Linked DNA regions of Homo sapiens: regions 2, 3, 4, 5 and 6 are each linked to region 1. The links are contacts of gene promoters, found by promoter capture Hi-C in blood cells and fetal thymus (Javierre and others, 2016). All regions are on one chromosome and are shown on one strand. The core of a region is centred on a gene start or on the middle of the fragment in contact, and the rest is flanking DNA. Distances in the headings are between cores, read along the strand shown.

Evidence for each region. Contacts are between HindIII fragments. The CHiCAGO score rates a contact against its expected background, and 5 or more counts as called.
Region 2: a contact is called between a fragment that was not itself captured here and the fragment with the promoter of RAB28 in region 1, in 9 of 17 cell types (total CD8 T cells, neutrophils, naive CD8 T cells and 6 more). The highest score is 30.6, in total CD8 T cells.
Region 3: a fragment that was not itself captured here is called in contact with the fragment with the promoter of RAB28 in region 1 in 10 of 17 cell types (naive CD4 T cells, total CD4 T cells, neutrophils and 7 more); the score reaches 16.0 in naive CD4 T cells.
Region 4: a fragment that was not itself captured here is called in contact with the fragment with the promoter of RAB28 in region 1 in 1 of 17 cell types (naive CD8 T cells); the score reaches 6.1 in naive CD8 T cells.
Region 5: a fragment that was not itself captured here is called in contact with the fragment with the promoter of RAB28 in region 1 in 7 of 17 cell types (naive CD8 T cells, naive CD4 T cells, non-activated CD4 T cells and 4 more); the score reaches 11.8 in naive CD8 T cells.
Region 6: a contact is called between a fragment that was not itself captured here and the fragment with the promoter of RAB28 in region 1, in 9 of 17 cell types (non-activated CD4 T cells, naive CD8 T cells, total CD4 T cells and 6 more). The highest score is 30.9, in non-activated CD4 T cells.

What each region holds. Positions count from the first base shown.
Region 1 is chr4:13,482,667-13,486,303 of GRCh38, forward strand. It overlaps RAB28 (RAB28, member RAS oncogene family), which reads right to left and starts at 1,674. Exons shown (of 7, transcript NM_001017979.3): 1 at 1,410-1,674. The coding sequence starts at 1,484. It overlaps LOC105374495 (a long non-coding RNA gene), which reads left to right and starts at 1,783. Exons shown (of 3, transcript XR_925413.1): 1 at 1,783-2,288; 2 at 3,495-3,637. RefSeq lists silencers at 1,206-1,825, 1,819-2,113, 2,076-2,135 and enhancers at 1,559-1,853, 1,649-2,556, 1,816-1,935. The HindIII fragment of the contact is 2,971 bases long and covers 909-3,637 here.
Region 2 is chr4:10,105,582-10,109,218 of GRCh38, forward strand. The region is part of intron 2 of WDR1 (WD repeat domain 1); the gene reads right to left. Among named protein-coding and RNA genes, the nearest start is that of WDR1, 9.4 kb to the right of the region's middle. RefSeq lists a silencer at 1,226-1,275 and an enhancer at 1,886-2,617. The HindIII fragment of the contact is 876 bases long and covers 1,447-2,322 here.
Region 3 is chr4:10,122,639-10,126,275 of GRCh38, forward strand. No RefSeq gene overlaps it. Among named protein-coding and RNA genes, the nearest start is that of WDR1, 7.7 kb to the left of the region's middle. RefSeq lists enhancers at 116-616, 617-1,117. The HindIII fragment of the contact is 2,556 bases long and covers 356-2,911 here.
Region 4 is chr4:10,142,182-10,145,818 of GRCh38, forward strand. No RefSeq gene overlaps it. Among named protein-coding and RNA genes, the nearest start is that of WDR1, 27 kb to the left of the region's middle. The HindIII fragment of the contact is 2,259 bases long and covers 685-2,943 here.
Region 5 is chr4:10,441,137-10,444,773 of GRCh38, forward strand. ZNF518B (zinc finger protein 518B) reads right to left here. Exons shown (of 3, transcript NM_053042.3): 3 at 1-3,637. The coding sequence ends at 1,968. Among named protein-coding and RNA genes, the nearest start is that of ZNF518B, 14 kb to the right of the region's middle. The HindIII fragment of the contact is 4,941 bases long and covers 1-3,637 here.
Region 6 is chr4:10,463,013-10,466,649 of GRCh38, forward strand. No RefSeq gene overlaps it. Among named protein-coding and RNA genes, the nearest start is that of ZNF518B, 7.4 kb to the left of the region's middle. The HindIII fragment of the contact is 8,106 bases long and covers 1-3,637 here.

The sequences.
Region 1 (3,637 bases), core at 424-2,923:
TAAAGAAAAGTTACCCCAAGTTCCTTTCTTCCCCCAACGTTTAAAGGTAATCAGAGCATATTGTTTTCCTCAGCTTTAAAAATCTGTAACAAAGGATCCAAGAAGACAAGAAAGAAACAAAAAAATACTTCAAATTTTGCATATAAAATTTTACATCTTTCCCAGGTGACCTCGAAACTCAAATGTCAGAACCAAAGGCAGAAGCAGGTATCTGGGCAGTGCCAACTGTCAGGGAGGATGCAAAGAGAAGTCGTCACCAGAGAAACCAGGGTCCGAAATGCAACCAGCAACAGGGAAATGTGAAGCCTTAAACAGGAAATAAAAGCCTGGGTTTCTTTAGACTATGGTTGGGATAAGGAAGGGGAGTACAGGGGTGATAAACTTTAGCAATATTCCCAGAAAGTGTTGGCGCCTTTGACAGAAGCATGGGAAAGAAGGCATCCGGGTAGAGGCTCTTCACTATTTGCTGGTGGAGGGATCATAGACCCCTCTGAGATCTTATGGACCCTCTCCCCAGAGCACGTACCGGGCAGTATTTACTCCATTTCAGGAGTTCCACAGCCTTGGGGTAGGAGCCCCTGCCTAGGAGATAATAAGACTGACGCTGCCTGATATTCTCACGCCCGCATTCATTCATTCGAACAGGGGATCCCTTTTGTCACGCAAGCAGCTCTACCCTCAGCATCCTACCCGTAACAGGAGCTCCATAAACACTTGTTGACTGACTGCTTGTATCGAGTGCTGAGCTGGAAACAGAGGTGATGAACAGGTATGATATTAAAATAGCAACTAGAGTGTACTGAGTGGACACTGTGCTCTAAAGGTTTTATGTGTATTTTCACATTTAATATGTATTTTCACATTTCTCCCTTTGCGGCGGCCCTTTTCAATACCCATCTTACAGATGAAGCTTAAACTGATTAGCAATTTGCCCTCCAATGACCCGACGACTAAGTGGCAGAGCCCCAATTCTCACCCGGGGAATACTGATTCCAGAGCTACGCTCCTGGGAGCTCACGATGCAGTAGAAGCATCAGAAACGGTAAAGGGGGTGGGAGGGGAGGAGTAAGTGTGACCCAGACTACAAGTAAGAGGAGCTAAGATGCCTTGGCAAATCCCTGCCAGTCCTGAGAGGCGGGAAGCTGAAAGGCTGGCCCGAGTCTTGCAGGAGTTCGCAATCCAGGCGGGGAGTTAGGAAGTGACTCTTTTTTAAGGGGGAGCTGGACAGCTCTCGTCGGCCTTCACCAAGCGCCCACTTCGTGTCCGGCCTCAGGCCACACAACCAGAAGGGCCCGGGCCTAGAAGCCCGAGGGCTCGGGGTAACGAGGCGACGCCGGGCGGCGGGGAGGAGGCCGGGGACCGCCGGGGTTCCTGCAGGCCTGGGACGGCGGGCCTGCTCGAGGACTGACCTTCCCGGAGGCGCCGTCCCCCAGCACGACGATTTTCAGTTGCCGGTCCTGGCTCTCCTCCTCAGAGTCCGACATGGTGTCCCGGGAACCAGGCCCGCCCCTCGAGGTGGGGGGGGAAGGGAAGGATGAAGGCTCCGGGGGCGGGGGAGAGGAGGAAGGGAGGTAGTTGCGGCAGGACCCCCGCCCCGGTGTCTCCGCGCCGGCAGGAGGTATTCGAGGAGAATCACTCGGCAAGCGCCATCTTGCCCACCTCCCCGCCCTCTGCGCGCGGCCCCGCCCCCTACGCGCACGTCGGGCGCGCGCCCCCGCCTCAGAGCCAACCCGCGCCGACCGGCGGCCCCGCCTGACGAGCCGAACCACTCGCGGCCCTGGACTGGTGTGGGGGACATTCCGGCGGGAGAGGCGAGGCGCTGCGTTTCCCTTCAGGAGACAGTTGGCTAGAAGAAGAAAAGAAGTGTTCGTTCAAATTAAGGAGAGAAAACGGGAGCAGAGCAGCTTTCAGGCGTTCCATCAAATTCCCTTTTCTCCTTCCCTCTTGAGAAAGTCTCTGAAGGGAATGGTTCAGCCTGACGGGGTGGAGCAGTGACGCCCGGGCTACGCGCCAGGGTTGCCTGGCAGCCAGGAGTTCGAGGACCGGCGGCGGGGCGGGGCCTGTCTCCGGGCACCCGGGACGCCCGTAGCCTGGCGGAGAGCGCCAGAGAGGGCCCCTGAAAAACCGGACCAGGGAAGAGGGTACCTCGGGGCGGATGAGGGGACAGCTGCTAAGGGCCGAGGCTGCTGGGAAGCCTCAGTAGCGGCCGTGAATACAGTGGAGCTCCGGCGCTGCTTATTTCGGCCTAACTCTTGGTTTCCTCATCTGAACAACCCCAGGCTCCCATGGTTCGTTCATCAGACGCTACTGATCGCCAACCTCCTGGCACCCCATCTTTACCCTAAGGCAGCAGTTCTCATAAAGTGTGGTCTAGGGACCTCTGGAAATCCCGATGACCTCAGAACAATTTTCATAATAATACGGACACCTTGTCTGTCTTTCTCACGTTCCTTCTCTCACTAGTATACCGTTTCCTGGAGGATACGCTTTGTGTACGACGTCATCACTGGCAGCTAAGGGAGCTTGCGTTTGTTGTTTTTAAACATTTCTCAGTTTTCATTTCAATGCAGTAGTGATAGGTGTAACCCACATAAACATAAGCTCTTTGGAGGTCACAGTAATTCTTTAACATTATAGAGAGGCCCTGAGTCCAAAAAATTTAAGAACTGCTGCCCTGGATAATCTCAGTCCAGGAGCGTTAGGTAAACGGCATAAATGAAATTTACAATTTAGTGAGGTAAATTCAAAAATAATAATGCTGTCCTGCTATGGTTGTTTCATTGTTAATCACTTAAAATTTATTGTTACCTTTACTACTATTAGGAATTATGAAGTATAATTATCCCCATTTTGCAGATGAAGTATCTTAAGTTAACAAAATGCTTAGCCCAGAGGCAGTAGTCTTGGAGACCATATGGGCATTAGAACAGGAAAGCAGAACAGTGTAAAGAAATGCCCAGACCTAGAGGCATCACTGGAGTTTAATCTCATGTTTACTAGATATGTGTCCTCGAGCCTCAGTTAGTTCACCTGTAGAACAGACTACTGCCTTTGTGTAGGTTTGAAAATTAAATGAAATAATCGGCATAAAGTAGATAGCACAATGCCTGGTGTGTAGTAAGCACTCAATATTAACCAGTGTAACTATCACCCTCATCATCATCATAATTAGATGATGGTCCGTGTTGGAAGTGTCACTACTTTCTAGCCAATTTACCTTATACAAGTTTCTTATGTAGAGCCTCAGTCTCTTCATCTGCAGAGAGGGCTGGCCCACAATTATAGGTACCCAGTTAAGTATTAGTACCCAATTCTTTCCCCAATCCCGCACCACCATTGCCACCACCAATTTTCTATTCACCAGATTTATTCATAAGAATTAGAAGAAAGAGGATATGTACTTGTTAGTGAGAAGAATCTACTTCCAGTGAGGACAGACTTAACCACTTCTTGTCCATGAGGGCAGTTAAAATGCAAGAAAATTTCTTTTCCAGTCTTCCTTAGATAGCTATGTGATCCACCGGACTAATGAGACAGAAGACAGTGTCCTTTGGAAGACATTTGTAAAAGAACCCTCCCCCCACCATTTAAAAAAAAGGAAAAGAAAAAAGGAGAGTTACAGGGGAGTCCTCCTCCT
Region 2 (3,637 bases), core at 635-3,134, 3.4 Mb before region 1:
CTCACTAGAATCAATAAAAAGAAAAGACTGACATCACCAAGTGCTGGCAAGGGTAGAGGGGTGGGGACACTGGAATGTTCACACTGCTGGTGGAAATGCAAAATGGTACAGTTGGAAAAGAGTTGGGCAGGTTATTTATAAACCTAAACAGACACTACTCACACCAAACACCAGCAACCCCACTCCTAGGTATCTGCCCTGGAGAAATGGAAGCATGTGTCCACCAAAAGACACAGGAGCAATGTTCACAGAAGCTTTCTTTGCAATGGCCAAAAACTGGAAATACCCAAATATCCATCAACAGGTGAACAGAGAAACAGGCAACACACCGCACTGCTTAGTGATAGAAAGGAACAAAGTGCAAATGCACTCAACACCAGCTATCAATCGCCAACATGTTATGCAAAGTGAAAAAGCCAGACAGAAAAGACTACACATTGCCTCTCACTTCATATGAAAGAAGATTTTAGAAAAGGCAACCCCAATGACAGAAAGCAGATAAGCAGCTGCTGGGGGTGAGGGTGGAAGGGGTGGCGGGGGCGGGGGGCACCCTCCGGAGTGACAGGAATGTTCTGTCATGACAGGGGTGGTGCTTATGGGACTATATAGGTCATCTGTCAAGATCCAAGCCACACACTGAATACAGACAAATTCTACTGTATCTAAAGTACACCTCAATAAAACTAAGATGCTGGCTATTTATTAAATGTCTGCCCAATCCAACCCTCTCCCACTCCAATTAGTCCTTCATATTCTGACACTGACACATCCCTACCCAAAGCACCTGGCAAGAAAATGATCCACTTAACAGGCAGCCCCTCCAAGACCCTGTTCGGTGTACACTCACAGCTGACTGGGGATGGGGGAGGTCTCACGCTCACATACAGGGGCACCTGCCCATCCCGCCAGACAGATGGCCTCGTGGGCTCTCCCAGCCTGGACGACCTCCTCCCCAGGCCGTGCTGCCGTAGAAAGGGTGGGGCTCCCATGGGCCTTCCGCTGGGGAGGGCATCCAGAGATGGAAGATGCCTGGGCAGGGGCATGAGAGGAAGTTCTGCCCCTAAAAATTCCTTCCCCTAAATGGTCAGGGCTGTGTGTAAAAACCCCAAAGGGCAACAGAATCCTGCCAGCTGATGAATCACTCACTCTCGTTTGTATTCTAAATACAACTGGGTCAGCGGTGGGGGCTGAGATACTCCAAACTGCAGATAATGACTTACATCTGAGTCAGAGCAGCCTCCTCCCCAGCTCCTCAGCTCGCAGAGGGAGGCTGCTTACTACACCCAGAAAGATACCTCACACCCCCACGTGTCACTCGGCCTGTGAGGCTCTGTCCCCATCAGCTGGGTCGAGATGGCACCTTGACACCCTCAGTGTGCCCCTCTCCCCCCAGCCTCCTCCCCCTCCTTCCATCTTGGGGAAGAAGAATGAGATTGGGGGTTGAGAAGCTTATTTGGGGAAAAACTCTGGAATGGGGAAAACGAGACAGGGAGGGCAGGAAGCCAATTCCAGGAGCCCCAGTGCTACTGTAGGCAAAAGTTCTGTCTCCCCATCTCCCTGGGGGCCTGGGGGAGACCACCATGAGCAGCCTTGGAGTTGCCCACTCAGGGACACCCCTCCTCCCAGGCTTTCTTCTCATGCTGCTGCAGGCTGGGCCAGCTCTGGCAGTGGGAGGCTGCCGTTCAGTCCTCACCACAGGCCTGCCCAGTTTTCCTTGCCAACTCCCAACCCATCTTCTCTTTTACCTCCACCATTTTCAATGCAGTCCTCCTGTTCTTCCTGGGAAGAGCGATAACTGCTTTGGAATGCATCTCCACCCTCCACCAAGCCGGTAGTCTTCAAATCCCGACCCTGATTACCTCACGGTCCGGCTTGCAACCCACCCTTCCTGAGCTCCCTCCAGGCTTCAGCCCACTCGTCGCTACCCTGCTGCCGCCCTGACGTTGCCAGCCACTCCTTGGGCTGACTACCCCAACCCATGGCCCCTCACCCCAACCCTTGAGGATAGAACAGGTGCAGCCCCTCTACCTTGCTGGCCCCAGACCCCTTCCCCAGTGGCCTCCACACCTGGGGGCTAGGGCCTGTGAGGGCCAGAGCTGGGGCTGGGATAAGACCTCGAGACAAGCCCCAGAATTCTGCCACCACCCCTGGAGGAGTCCGGGGGCCTCTGAGGACATGAAGGACACCAGCCAGCAATCAAGGAGTCACACACGCGAGCAGACCCAGGACCCACGGACTTCGGCAAGTGACAGCATGTAACAGCACCCAGCCCTGCCAACACAGGGCCTGGTTCAAGGCCCAGTGGTGCCCATTTGAAGCAGAAGCTTTGGACTTGACCCGGGAGGCCATTCTACTCTGTCACACTATGCTCAGGTCCCACCAGCCCCCACCTCCCACCTGTGCACTGAGGCATCCTGCCCAGGAATAGCTGGTCTTTTTCTGAGAATCCTGTTGAATGGCAAACCTAAACATACTCCCCCCCGGCACCTGTACAATGTCTGTGCCGCCTTTGAGACTCGCTATAATACACAGGTCATGCAAACAAGCACACAGAAGCGACATTTCCGTAACTCTGTTATGCCCCAGGCAGCAACATTTACAATTAGTGAGCCCTGAGCCCCTCAAAGCTCTCTTACTTTCCTATGTCCTCCCAGTCTCAGGTGGGTGACGGAGGGGCCAGAGGTCACTACTCCAATTTACAGGTAGGCTGTGATGACCCTGGGTCCTGGGGCTTGGGTCTCAAGGCTTGCCACTGGTATCTCAGCTCCTGGCCCACAGTGAACCTGATGGAACATGCTAGAAGGTTGGAGATACCTGCCCAAGCAAAAAACATTTCAGCAGATGACGACACAACACTGATGAAGGGGCCTGCTGTGCCCTCCTTTAGCTGCCAACTGTCCCCGGGAACCCCAGAGAAAGTCTCAGGCGTCCTCCATGGTCCACCCAGGCCAAGTGAGCGTGAGCTTCCAGTCAGGGCACTGGCTTTGTAAATACTCCAAGTTCCTGCAAGCAACAGAGGCTGAAAGCTGTTACTGCTGTAACTGACCTGTGCAAATATAACTGGCCAGGGCCCTTATGTTCACTGGTGACTACAACTAAGGCCAAGGCTGAATGACAGCAAAAAACCTCAGCTCCAAAGCAGGAATGTAAACTTCTGCGACAACACAACGCCTTCTCCTAATTATCTTTTAAGGCCCAGGCAAAGGGCTTCTCCTCCAAGCAGCCTTCCCTGATGCTCCAAGCTAGAAATCATCTCTCCCACCCTGAACCCCCACCTTCCCTGACTCCCACCCCACTGCCCTCACTACTTTCCACCTTGGACTACACATCATTTGTGCCCCACCTGCCTTCTGTACTACGTGGACACCAGAGTGGGGAAGGTTCACACTTGATTCACCATAGCAGCTGCCAAATACCGACAAAGACCAGAACTTGGCTGGAGCCTGGTAGCTGTTTATCAAGAAACAAATCCCCACCGGCCACTTACTATTCACTCTCAGACAGGCCCTGGGTGGGCCCCTCAGTGGATTCTCTTTGAAACCTCACAACACCTGCTGTAAGGAAGGTAACCTCATAATCCCACATGACAAAGAAACCAAGGCAGACACTGGGCGATACGCCCCAGGCCACCCAGCTG
Region 3 (3,637 bases), core at 384-2,883, 3.4 Mb before region 1:
CCCCGGCCTGTCCTTTCCCGGGACCCTTCCTGGAACGTTTACTTACCCTCATACTTGCAAGCACTTCGTGTGAGCTAGATGCTGGGTTTGTGGGCCCTTGCCCTTCATCTTACATCAGGGAAGGGAACTTGGGTTGGAACTTTGCCGAGTTGAAAAGCAAGTGATGCAACCAGGAGTTAAACAGGTTGGGTCTACAGAGTCTAAACTGTCCTTTACACGTGAAAGGGCTGAAATGGATAGATCAGATATGGAAGTTTTAATTGTGCCCCTAAATAACCAACTTTTCCAGTGAAGGTAGAATCTTAGCATGCTCTCACCCAAGTTCAAGGATAGCGTCAGTCGCTCTCCAGTTGAAAGCTTTGTCTTTGGGTAACTACTTACCGTCCTAGGGTTTCTGCCTTTTCCTTCTGACTCAGTCCACAGTGCCTGGGTCTTTGCTGGCCTCCAGTTGTGTGGTCAGAGCTAACGTGTTTGGCTGTTGAGCACCGGTGTCTGGCTTGTTTTGTGCCCACAGTGCAGGGGCTTGGCTACGTGGTCACTGGGCATCCTGTGGTGCTGTGGGGGTCTGGTCTGAGGGCTGTGCCAGTGCCTGTTGCTGATATGGAGATTCCGGTCATGAGGCTGTTCGCTGCAGCGAGTCTCCTTGTACAGACCCTGTGGTGTGGCCTTCTTGCCCATTGGCCTGAGGGCTTGGGTCCTTCCTCTGCTCCATGAGCATAGAAACTCTAGATCTCAACACCCTGTGTTTGAGTGTTCAAGACTGTTAAACAGAACTGGATCCCAGCCCTCTTTTCCAGGAGTGCTGAGGATCTTTGAGCCCTGACACAGCCACAAATCCATCACAGCTCCTGCCAGCACCTCCCAATGCTGCCCCTGGTTCCTTGGCGGTGGCCTCCGGCCATTTCCAAACACTTCTGCTATTAGCTGCCTTTATAGTCGGCTTCCCTCAACACGTGGACCAAAGGGTCAGCTTTTCTGCCAAACAGGATGGACATAGATTGTTAGTGGAGGAGGGCTCTTGTATTTGTTGCCATGGAGACAGTGACCAGCTGGATGCCCTGCCTCTCCGTTCGCATGCCTCCCTGTGGGGGAGGGGGGGAATCGCACTGCGGATGGGCCTAGGGAACTTGGACATGTGTCATTCAGCCCTTTGCTCCTTTGACTCAGGCTCTGCCTGCCTGTGGTAAACAGGTGCTCTGATCTGCTCCCTCCAAGTGGGTGGTGTTTCTGGGTAGACATTGCCCATCCCAGCAGTGGGGATCTGGTAGTTGAGATCTGCATGTGGCTGGGAAGCTGTACTGCTCTGCTAGGGCTGGCATAACAAACTGCTATGAACTTGGTGGTTTCAACGGAAATTCTTTTCTGGAAGCCAGGAAATCTGAGATCAAGAGGTGGGGTGTGGTTGGCTCCTTGCCAGGCTGTGAAGACTGTTTCAGGCCTCTAGCTTCTGATGGTCTGCTGGCATCTCTGCTCCTTGGCCTGTGGGACCACCACCCCATCCCTGTTTTCATCCTTAATGTCTTCTCCCTGTGCCTGTTTCCGCTTCCCTGTTTAAAGGACACTGGTCCTATGGGAGTAGGGCCCACTTTGAGTTTTACTTCATCTTAATTGCAGCAGCAGGCCACCCTGTCTCTAAACAAGGTCACACACTGAGAAAATACTTCACTGTAGGGGCTGAGTTTCATCTATATTGAAGGTAGGGCTTGCCCTGTCATCCTCCCACCCGTAAAGCCCCAACCACCAGCCTCTCAGCGCCTTGGGGACAAGGCAGAGGCGGTTGAGTTGCGGTGACCCACCTTGTTGACAGTGGCAGTGGTCACACTGTAAAGTGTTGCCACCCATTCTGGGGCACCAGCCCTTGGGGAAACTGGACTTAAGGCACAACCTGGATCAAGAGGCTAGGTGCCTGCACTATATCTGCCTGGCAAAGGAATCACTGAGGAAGTGACTGAAAAGTGCTTCCCTATCTCTGACCCTGGTTTTGGCTTTCATCCTAAAATGCTCTAATGAAGCGGCCTAAAACACATGGCTGCCTTAGAAAACAACCACTGGAGCATTTGAGGAGTTGGCATCTCCCCCGCCTTTGGGGACCGTGGGACCAGTTTCTTAGCTCGGCTGCTGTGGCCATAAAAGTACTCCTGCTTCTAGGCATGACCCGGAGGATGGTGGTGGCCACAAAGCAACCAGGAGTGGGTGCTGTCTCAATGTCCCTGGCTTGGGCCCTAGGTCTAGACAAGGACCTCGGTCCACTTTGTTCCGGTCTGGGAGGGTTCCAGTCATTCCCGATGGCATTGCTGGGATTGGACAGGAAGTCCCTACCATACACAGGCAACTCAGGTTCATGTAGAAGGAGGCTCCTCAATAAGGGAAAACATCAAAGGGGGAAGTTTTAGATGAATGAGCTCAGACTCCGATGAAGCTGATAGACCGAGTAGCTCGACACATTCTGGAATATCTGGCAACTGGCATGGACTCCGTAAAAGGATTTTAATTTTTGTCTGCTTTTCGAGGTACATTTAGGCACAGCTGTTAAATTGGTAGTTATGTCCTATTGGGAAAGATGCTGCAGTTGTGGCCACAGTGGAGGCTTCTACACACGTGGGACACGGGGGACCCTGAGAGACTTGGCCCTGCTGCAGATTAAAGATGACCGAGGCAGTATAGTGTCGGCAGGTCAGCCACATACCTAGTGCTTGCCTGGCATACTGGATGTTAAATGATTTTCAATCTCATCTTAGGTAGTACGGGAAAGTGGTCTCTAATTTGTTCCCCATATGATTTGTAGGAATGGTCTTAAAATGCTGGGTGGTGAAATCAACGTTGTGTTCCTTGTAATATTTGAAACCTGGAAACTGCAAGTGCTCAGTCATAAGAGCTGGTGTCAGCCACTGGGTGTCTATTTGGTTCACAAAGCTTACTTCAGCCCTCCCAAATGTTCTCCCACTCCACATCAATACCCAGCTTCAAAAGGAGCCTCCAAGCAAAGTGTTTTTGGGTATCAACCTTGACCGTGGAGGAATTGTGAAGCCAACGTAGCAAGATACCTTGATCATGTGGACTATCACAACCTGTGGGATTGTGAACATCTAGAGTCATGTATGCACCTCACATGTCTACCGAACACCAAAGGGTCAGACACGAATGCAGTATTCTGGAGCTTGGTGCCTAGTCACTTATTTCCCCTCTGTAATACAAATTGTTGGTGCGTTATAAGGATAAAACGCAGGCTCTTAAGGCCTGGTCATATTAGAAGTGCTCGAATGTCATGTACATGTTAGGTGGCTGGAGGTACTATGGAAAATAGGAACATGTTATCTCTTCTGTGTGAAGGTCAGGGAGGCTCTTGTAGGACTCTAAAGTTGATATGTGAAGGATGTGAAGAGCATAGAGTAGTATGTGATATGCTTGGCAAAGGAATGGAGTCTCCCTGAATACCCGTGTGGAATGGAAGTAGGGCTGGGAAATTAGAGCCAGGGCGAGTGGCTGGGGCTGCTTCATGGAGGTTCCCCAATGACCTCATGATCAGATGCCATCAGGATGTGTCAAGCGTGATGTGGATCAGATTGACTTGTTGGGGTCACTACTCCCTGTGGAGGGTGGGGTTAAATGGACCAGCCTGGGACACTGGAGTTGGGCC
Region 4 (3,637 bases), core at 564-3,063, 3.3 Mb before region 1:
ACTGGCTTCCAGTAGTGATCTGAATCAAGTATAAATAGTTACTGACACCTCTGATATATAAAAGATTAAGCATGCTGCACAGTGGCCCACACCTAGGTTTCACTTCCCAGGCTCTTGCAAGGATCTGGGTCTTTCTATCCAGAGTTCCCCTACTGTTGGTCTAAATCTCTGAAGACTTGAGTTCAACTTGCCAGGCAGCTGGTTTTGCTTGGAAGACTATCTTTACATCAGATCCAAGCATGGGAGGTTTGGCTTGGAAATTCAATCAAGATTCCATGGGTGAGACCTCCTTAGAAGCCTGAGGGGCAAGGTGTTGGGAATCCTTGCCAAGAATTTGGCAAACAGCTGTAGGCTGATATCTCACTGACTGCCTGAGGGCACCATAAAAGGATCCTCAGGTGTGAGGACAAGTGAGCAGTTGACCAAGTCAAGGGGGCAACAAGAAACTATCCAGATAGTCTCTGCAGAATGTTTGGGAATGCCTCTGGCCACTTGCCGTTCTATCTAAACATACTAGCTTTCTCTCCCTTAACTGAAAATCCAAAGTGTCAGTGACCGACCACTCGCATAATGGTGGCTATACTAGTCAGGGTTTCCTAGAGGAACAGAATAGGATGGATACACACATATAAAGGGGAGTTTATTAACTTACACAACCATAAGATCCCCAATAGGCTGTCTGCAAGCTTGAGGAGCAGAGCCAGTCCAAGTCTCAACTGAAGAACTTAGTCCGATGTTTGAGAGGTTAGGAAGCATCCAGCATGGGACAAAGATGTAGGCTGGGGGTCTAGGTCAGTCTCACCGTTTCATTTTTCCTGCCTGCTTTATATTTGCTGGCAGCTGATTAGATTGTGCCCAACAGATGAGAAGGGTTGGGTCTGGTTTTCGCAGCCCACTGACTCAAATTTTTATCTGGCAACACCCTCACAGATATACTCAGGAACAATAGTTTGCCTCCTTCAAGTTGACACTTCAGTGTTAACCACCACAATGGTTAATGCTGTGGCAAAGTGACAATATCTATGCGTACCATAAATTATCCCACCCAGTAGCAAATTCTGCAGGGCAGCTCCTCTGGAGACTATTTTTCCCCCCTCCCGGAAGGCTGTAAACTGAGAGAACTTTGAATGAACAAATTCCCAACATAGCAGCCCGCATCATTTCAGCATGTCTTTTAACGCTGATTGCTTTTCACCTTCTGGCAGTTTCCCAGGCTCTGGGGTTTAGTAGGCACATCCCCTTCACATCAGGATCATCTCCATGCTCATACCCAGTCTTTGAACCAGTTCCTGGCAATCAGCTTTCAGCTCAGGGCTTTGAGCTGCAGATGCTCCGTCGTCCTCTCTCTCCTGAGCAGGTGAAGAATCTTGACTTTGAGTTGGTGGTTCCACTTCTTCAGGTGGTTCATGACTGAACTGCTTGGGCAGAATAGGCCAGATCACCTTAGGTTGTACAGATTGTATTGGTCGAGGCTGATTGATCTTCCTCACCGACTCATTTCACACAGATGAGTCTCAGTAAAGGAGTCAACCGCCGGAATGTGACAGCATATCCTCACAGCTCCCCAGGACACTTTCTTGGTGTTGATTCTGCCTCTCAAACTTAACTCACTGTGATGTCCAAACTTTGAAAAGGGAGCCTACTGATACTCATGGAGGGACAGGCATGCAGGGGACCCGTGTGCAGCGTCAGAAGGTGTGAGGCTGCCTTGTCAGTGTGGTCCCCATCTTTGTGCTAGTAGCTGCTTCTCGCCAAGAGCCAAGGTTCTTCCAGGTTGGTAGGGGAGGAGGCAGTGCTGAATCTGACTTCCCAGCTTGGACCACGTTACATCCACTGACACTCATGGCTCATGGTGGTTGTGTGGTTGAATTGTCTGGAAAGTATATGCACTAAATTAGGAATACAAAAGATCTACGATTTAAGAAAAGGGAAGCTGTCCCATCATAATTGAACCTGACAATTTTGCCAGTCCAGCAGGGAGCTTTGGAGCAAGATAATCCTCAATTTGAATCCCACATTAGGTGGAAATGGCTCAGCTCAATGTTGGCTTGGGGCCACCCCAAAAGGAACATGAGCTAACAGCTAGAGCCCTTAGTAGGTAAGCATGCTCACAGCCAGACAGTTCTGTGAAGGTGGTGTGTGACATGTTGTCAGATCTGCAAGTGATGGGCAGCTATGGTTTCAAATCGGGTCTGTAAGGACTGTCATTCTAAGATGTAGTTGATAGTCACTGTATCTTCTGCGAACTACATCACAGCTGGCCAACACTTGACTGGTTTAGGTGACCAAAGTCTTTTGTTCCTAAGTGGTCTGAGATCCTGGTCTGGTCAGGTTATGGCCATTGTGAAGCCTAGCCACTGGGAAGCTCCAAAAAGTGCCCTAGTGACTCACCCACATCCCATATACTTTCCTCCCTGTATCAGCAACCCCTGATCTCCAGGCAAAGGAGCTCAGAATAACCTGGTGGCACTGCTTTTGTTCCCTGGTGGAAGTGTCTAGGACTGCAGTGTCTTAGCCTGCCAGAACTAACCTTGCAGGGATGGAACATGAATGGTCTCCCTCCTGAGCATTGTGGGTTGTGAGGGAGAAATTTCTCCTTGGATCCAGACCTATACTCTTGCTACTAGATAAATAGTATAGGACATCTGTCCAAAATACTGCAACTCAAATATGCTAGTTCCAGACTGGGTTTCTTGTTAGCAAACTGCCTCGAAACTGCTGGTGAACCAAGGGTAGGCTATGGAAGAGGCCATCACAAGCCAGTCTTCTTTCCCCCTTGAGCCAGGTTGGGTCGGCTGTGGAATAGTTCATGGAGATGGTGCAGTTGAGCTCTTGGAGGTGCTGAGTCAAGACTGGAAGAGTTTGTCTAAAACGTGTAATAGATTTAAAACCTGTGAAAAGGGGAAGGAAGCAGGATCGGGCAGAGGTCAGACTAGGATGTAAAGCTTGACTGAGCCTGTCGGGGAGCTCCAGAGGCAGCATCTCATTAAGGTGGTTCCAGGTCACAGATGGGTAGGACTGCTGGTTTGGCTAGTTCATGGCTGTGGGCTGCCCTTGGAGGGACTGACTAAGGCTGGCAGACTACTCCCTACTGAGCAGCATGTTGTGTCTTGAATAGGGATTGGGTGGTGGATTTGTCTAAGGGATGGTGGCTTTATAGAGGTCTTAATTGAAGTCTGTTACAGGTCAGGACCATGGAGTTGGATGGCTGTCAATGGGCCTATTCTAGGAGCGCTCGGGTGGCCGAGTTACACCTGGCTATAAGTCATCCCGTGCACCTGACTAAATGCATCCCGTGCACCTGACTAAATGCGTCCCGTGCACCTGACTAAATGCGTCCCGTGCACCTGACTAAATGCGTCCCGTGCACCTGACTAAATGCGTCCCGTGCACCTGACTAAATGCGTCCCGTGCACCTGACTAAATGCGTCCCGTGCACCTGACTAAATGCGTCCCGTGCACCTGACTAAATGCGTCCCGTGCACCTGACTAAATGCGTCCCGTGCACCTGACTAAATGCGTCCCGTGCACCTGACTAAATGCATCCTGTGGGAGCTTCATGCCAGGCTCTGACCGACCTATGACTTGGCCTATATAGGTTTCCTGCCCATTCCCATGGGTTCCTCCCCATTCCCAT
Region 5 (3,637 bases), core at 737-3,236, 3.0 Mb before region 1:
AAAAATGTACTTCCAAAATAAATTTCTAGAATATAAAAACGTTCTACATTTTTCCAGCCCATGTATCATTATAAAATAGGAAATCAGAAAATTAGCTACTGCAATTTTCATATGGTAAAAAATATTTTTATGTGTACACATACACATATATAAAAATGCAAGTTTTAAATTTCAATAAAAATTTACCAATTAACTTGATGATCATGTATTGAATTATACAAAAGAAATGTTGATTATCTGTAATGAGAACAAACTGCAAAGGATTGCAATTCCATCTACTGGAATCTAAGACTTTCCCATGTGAAAAAAAAAAAAAAAAATCAAAGTCTCCAATCGACTACCCAATAAACAATCACTGGTGTCTTTTTCAGGTGCAACAACTCTTTAGTTTCATTCACTGCACCCCACAAATCGCCTAAGACAGGAATAGCCCCTGGAGGGAGGGAAATGCAAGTTGGGGCTGCCTCGGGGTTGTGCCATCTGTGCTCTACCTGGAAGGTCAGCGCCCAGCTGCACAGGCAAGTGAAGACTAGAATCCTGTCTTAAGCACTGACCCAGCCACCTATCTGCCCAAGAGGCTGTGCTTGTGCAGGGGGTGGGCCTTTTTCTAAAGAACACAAATGTGTAGATAAATGACAGTCCTGACATCTGTTGGTAGAGAGGGGAGTGGAAGGAGTGTTCCTGGAGTTGCTTCCCTGAGAAAGCTGAGCAGCAGGGTAAGCATGAATGTGGTTAAGACAAATTAGAAACAGCGTTACTATCAATGAAAACTAGGGATCGTGTTCCTGTAACTTTAGCAAAAACAGTGGGAGGTCTCCATTTTGTTGATTCCTGCCATTTTCTAGTAATCGCATGAGGGAAAACCTTAAGGGGTCTCAAAGGCACAGAAAGGAAGAAACAGTGGGCAAGGAAGTTGTGCTAGTCCACAGGAGGGCCGGTTCAGAAGAAATGGCAAAGGGAGTCTAGTGTCCATGAATCAAAGGGATCAAGAAGAGAGAAGACAGCATCCACCCATGGTCTTTGGATGAATCCCAAATGAAAACTAAAGGGCATATGAAACCCTTTTCACAACTTTATGAGCCTACCTTGAACTGTGTTTGCGAGTTTTACCTATGTTGTAAGCCTGTTCCCTAGCATTTTAAATTGGTCACTTATGTTTCTGGGAGTGGTAAGGGCAAAGAGAAAATAGTTTTAGATATTTTCCTTTTGTAATCTCTTTTTGTCTTTGCAAAAAGGTACGTTCCCTTCCCATATGTCATAAACCAATGTATTTTAAAGAAAGCAAAAGCTAAGTATTTGAAAATGTTATCTTTCTTCTAACACTTGCTGTGAAAGGAGTAAATTCAGGCAAGCAGTTGAAAACATTCTTTAAAATGGCCAGTAAAAGCAAAACTCTTTGTGCTATACGGAACACTCGGGAGTATTACAAAACCAGGGAGGGAGTAAAAGAATGGCCATTTCTCTATAACCAAATTGAAGACAGTAAAGTAGAAAATATAATTTCCATTGTGCACCAAATACTCAGAACACAAATTAAAGCAAAAACAAAATGGATGTGCACACCAAAACAAAGGTTTTTCTGTAGCATTTATATGAAGAGCATGTGTAAAACATTCTCAATCTGCCCCTCTGAATGGATTATGAAAGATCAGTATGTACTCAGAAAACGGGGTGCTAAACAAAGAAAAGTCTCAGATCCCACTGAAAATCTGTTCAGTTTCACAGGCTCTCTCCAGAAAAATGCATATGTACCAATTTGCATGTACAATTTCAGAGCCTTCAAATACATTCTGGGGTCCAATCACATACTTCAGGTTCAGACTCCTAGCTCCCAATATTCCTACAGTTCTGAAGAATTAGCAGTCCTCTCATTTCTACAGTCTGTATTTCTTCTACTGAATCTTGGTGGAGGGACTCCAAACCAGAATAAACTAAAAGATAACTTGCTTTAAAGAGTAACTGTTTACTTATTTGCCCTTGGAGGAAAGAACATCCCAATCTCTAGTTGCTTCTATCAAATGCCGTTGGCCATGACTCATCCACTCTTCCTGGTCTTCATACAGTCGCCCACAAAACCAGCACTTAAATACACACTGTGAAGAATCATCAGGCAAGGAATCCACTACCTGGTAGTTGTTTTTATGAACTTTTTTGAGTTTCATTTTCAACATCATTTGCCTTTTAATTTGACTGGCTTCTTCCGCATTCTGGTAGGTCAGGCGTACATGATGCCGTCTGATGCCTAGCTGACACCTAGTCCTCTCTGATAAAACAACTTTGAGGACATTGCCTTTGTATTTATTTATTACCTTCATCACATTGGTCACTTCTGGCGAGTCCACATCAGGGTGGTTTAACACAATGACTGGCTGGTTCCGACGGGGACACTTAATCAACTGATCTGGCTTAGCTGCTATCAGTCTTAGTTGCCTTGCAACCTGAAAAATTGAAGGATCCTTGAGACAGCGGCTAGGTTCAGCTTGAATTTTGTTTTTCTTCCTGGATAAGTGTACTTGTTTGGTTTTATTTCTACTTATAGAAAGACTTCTGGAAAGCAGTCTCCCTTGCTTATTTAATTCACTGCTTCCTTGCTGTCCATACAAGAGGCCAGTTTTTCTATGGATGGTGCTACAGACAGCACTCTCTTTTCTCAGTTTAGGCCGCAGAGGTGTCTCGATATTTGGGGACATATCTATTGGCCCCCTTTCACTTCTTAAAGGCTGTAAGTCTGAGTCCGCCTGTCTCACAGGGCAAAATGGAACTGGTTTTATTAACTGTCTTTCACTGCAAGGTATGCTGACAGGTGCTTCACATGTAGCCTCTATGATGTGGGCATTCTCAGAGGAATTAAGAACCCTCAACACAGCCCCTTTGGGGATTAACACTGGCGTGGCAACATGAGCCTTCCTGGCCACTCTGCTTTTGGTTTTCCTATTACTGCCATCTGCAAAGTGTGGATATATTTGTTGATGAGTAAGCTGTCTATTACCAGTAATACCACCATCATTCGGAGGTTTCTGAAGAGTACCTGTGGAATGGCCAAGACCAGTGAGTGACACGTTGATTTCTTGAATACCTTCAGAGGTAGCTTTTGAAGTTCCCTTTGATGCCTGCCCTACAGAGCGACGATGTGCACTATTTGAAGCCAAAGATGACGGCTTCCCACAGGACTCAATTAACTGAGCTATCTTTCTGCGCAACAGTTCAATTGACTTTATTTTAGACGTTGAGCTATTCCACTTAATGCCCTCGGGGACATTTTCAGATCCAGAGCTCAGAGAAAATACTGATGAGATGACTGGGCCATCATTAGTGTTGTTAGTCCTTTCAGAATTCTTTAATTCCAAAGGCTTATCCCCAGGCTGTTGAGATCTATCTTCTCCAGTTATGTTTATATGTAAATACTCACTCTTATGTTGAGAGGAAATCTGGCCTACAGTTGAAACTGCCTTGTGTTCCTCTGTCTGGTTATCTTCCTGCTTCCTATTAGAGGAAACCACTTTTACAGGAATATTGACTTTACTTGTAGATTCCAAGTCATTTTCACTTACAGGCAATAAGCCCTTTTCTCCAGAGAAGGAACAGGTTGCAGGTGATGCAGCAAATGGGAGTAACTGCTGTGAGCTACTGTGTAAAT
Region 6 (3,637 bases), core at 837-3,336, 3.0 Mb before region 1:
TTAGCCCAGAAACCAGACTTACCAAGCAGACACCAACTGATGTGTGGTCAGTTGTCAAGGCAGAGGGAAGAAGAGCTTCGCTTAACAGAGCACTGATTCTTAAGACTTCCGACCAGACGTGCAAATGACTTCCACTCTCGTTTAACTAGCCAAAGCAAGTCACATGCCCCCTCATAATTGCAAAGAACAGAGGAGTGCCATCCTACCATGTGCCTTGGAGAACTGGACATATTTTCTAGATGGTAACAGCTATTGTTACTATTCATTCTAGAAGTCTTCCAGTATACTGTGATGTCCACAAACATCATGAACAACAGAACTCAGGGAAGGCTGAGCTTATGTGGATATTCAGCATGGATTTTTTTTTTCCTGTTCTTGGACAGAGCCCAACATTCTTGCTTTATGTTGAAGGAGTGTGTTAGTGACAGGTCTCTTGGGGTTCACTTGTTCTCTCTTCACAAAATCTGGATGGCACTAGGTAGTACTAGATAGATGGTAAGGCCCATTGGAAGAAAAGTAGTCTATGTTGCTCTCCTTTTGTATACTGAGATTCTACTTCAATGACTGGCACAATATTTACTGAATCAATGACTATTTGGTAAGTATATCTTTTTTTTTTTTTTTTTTTTGAGATGGAGTCTTGCACTGTTGCCCAGACTGGAGTGCAGTGATGCGCTTTTGGCTCACTGCAACCTCTGCCTCCCAGGTTCAAATGATTCTCCTGCCTCAGTCTTCCGAGTAGCTGGGATTACAGGCGTCTGCCACCACACCCAGCTAATTGTTTTGTATTTTTAGTAGAGATGGGGTTTCACTATGTTGGCCAGGCTGGTCTCGAACTCCTGACCTCGTGATCTGCCCACCTTGGCCTCCCAAAGTGCTGGGATTATAGGCATGAGCCACCGCACCCGGCCGCAAGTATATTTTATCTTACTAGTAAGGGGATGACAGCCCTGAAAATTTATCTTTCCAGTTTATCCAGGAACCCTGTAAAGAAAAATGTAAATGATTCATTTATTTAGCAAATAAGCAGGTTGAGAACATTGTTACATCAACATCTGCCACTGGAATTTCTCTTGGGGAGAAACCATTTTTATTAAGAAAAATGAAATTCCAGAGCTTGCCTTGGAGACCTCACTTCCCAGACCTAAAGCAGAGTTTACTCCTTATTCAGAACAGCATAAGGAGAACAGCATTAGGAGAACAGCATAGCTCCCAGGAATTTTTCTTTTCTTTTCTTCAACTTTCACTTTAAGTTCTGGGGTACATGTGCAGGATGTGCAGGTTTGTTACACAGGTAAACGTGTACCATGGTGGTTTGCTGCACAGATCATCCCATCACCTAGGTGTTAAGCCCAGCATCCATTAACTATTCTTGCTGCTCTCCCTACCCCCATTGACAGACCCCAGTGTTTATTGTTCCCCACCATGTGTCCATGTGTTCCCATTATTCAGCTCCCACTTACAAGTGAGAATATGCGGTGTTTCGTTTTCGTTCCTGTGTTAGTTTGCTGAGGATAATGGCTTCCAACTCCATTCAAGTCCGTACAAAGGACATGATCTCATTTCTTTTTATGGCTGCATAGTATTCCATGTGTACATGTACCGCATTTTTTTTATGCAGCCTATCATTGATGGGCATTTGGGTTGATTCCATGTCTTTGCTATTGTGAAGAGTGCTGCAGTGAACATATGCCTGCATGTATCTTTATAACAGGATAATTTATATTCCTTTGGGTACATACCCAGTAATGGGATTGCTGGGTCAAATGACATTTCTGCCTCTAGGTCTTTGAGGAATCGCCACATTGTCTTCCACAATGGTTGAATTAATTTACACGCCCACCAACAGTGTAAAAGTGTTCCTATTTCTCCGCGATCTCACCAGCATCTGTTCTTTTTTGACTTTTTAATAATAGCCATTCTGACTGCCGTGAAATGGTTTCTCCTTGTGGTTTTGATTTGCATTTCTGTAATAATTAATGATGTTGAGCTTTTTTTCAGGTTTGTTGGCTAAGTGTATGTCTTCTTTTGAGAAGTGTCTTTTCTCGTCCTTTGCCCACTTTTTAATAAGGTTGTTTTCTTCTTGTAAATTTGTTTAAGTTCCTTGTAGATTCTGGATGATAGACCTTTGTCAGATGGATAGATCAGAAAAATTTTTTCCCCTTCTGTAGGTTGTCTGTTCACACTGATGATAATTTCTTTTGCTGTGCAGAAGCTCATTAGTTTAATTAGATCCCATTTGTCAATTTTTGCTTTCATTGCAATTGCTTTTGGCATTTTCGTCATGACATCTTTGCCTGTGCCTCTGTCCTGAATGGTATTGCCTAGATTTTCTTCTAGAGTTTTTATAGTTTTGGCTCCCTGGAATTTGAGGTTAGGAAAACTTGAGAGAAAAGTTCAGAGTAGAGAAAGCACCCTAAGGTGAAAGGTGTTCTAGATAAATTTCCAGAAGTTAGGTGGTCACAGACTTTTAAGAATGAGCAATATAATAAATTGTTTTTTCACTGTTTCTGTGACTCTTTAGGAAAAGTCTGATACATACAATGTAGTGATCGTAGTTATGTTGGAAGCTGCCAGGTTTTACCCAATATGCTTTCTCTTTTTTCTTAATGGAACCCCACTTTTAGCTAGATATATGGACGCCATGGGCCTTTAAGCCCCTTTTAGAAATACTCTGTGAAACGTTGCTAGACAACCCACCAAAACATATAATTAGTTTAAGGTTGCAGTAGTAGCCCAGTCTGGTAGTTGTTACCCTAAATCTGTCTCTCCTCTTTTTTCCTTAATTATGACCTTCCTACAATTTCTTACTGGGCACATAGCTGCTCAGAAAGAAAGACTGGGCAGGGCTGGGTGACTCACACCTGTAATCCCAACACTTTGGGAGGCTGAGGCAGGCGGATCACTTGAGGCCAGGAGTTCGAGACGAGCCTGGCCAACATGATGAAACCCCGACTCTACTAAAAATACGAAAATTAGCCGGGCATGGTGGCGCATGCCTGTAATCCCAGCTACCTGGGAGGCTGAGGCAGGAGAATTTCTTGAACCCAGGAGGTGGAGGTCCAAGCAATTCTCCTGCCTCAGCCTCCCAAGTAGCTGGGATTACAGGTGGGCACCACAACACCTGGCTAATTTTTGTATTTTTGGTAGAGGCGGGGATTCACCGTGTTGGCCAGGCTGGTCTTGAACTCCTGACCTCAAGTGATCTGCCTGTCTTGGCCTCCCAAAGTGCTAGGATTACAGGCATGAGTCACCACACCCGGCCTAGAAAATCTTAATAACAGAAAAATATAAGAAAAAGAATGCTATGCCCAAAATATGTCAAATATGTTATCTTTAGTTAAGACTGAGTACGTAAGTGACAGGGCCCCATGCAAAATGAATATGTGGAGTTCTTTTTTCGAAATATCATTAATCTTGTAAAGACATAGAGCATTAAACCAACCATGAGGTCCCTGTAAGTGTGGGGACTTGTGTGACTGCACAGATCACATGCCCTTGAAGCCAGCCCTGTCTTCAGTTAAGTCTTCTTATTGGAAAGCCAACTGCATTATTTCCTATGGCTGCTATAACAAATTACCACAAACGTGGTGGCTTTAAACAACACACATTTATTATCTTATAGATCTGGAGGCCA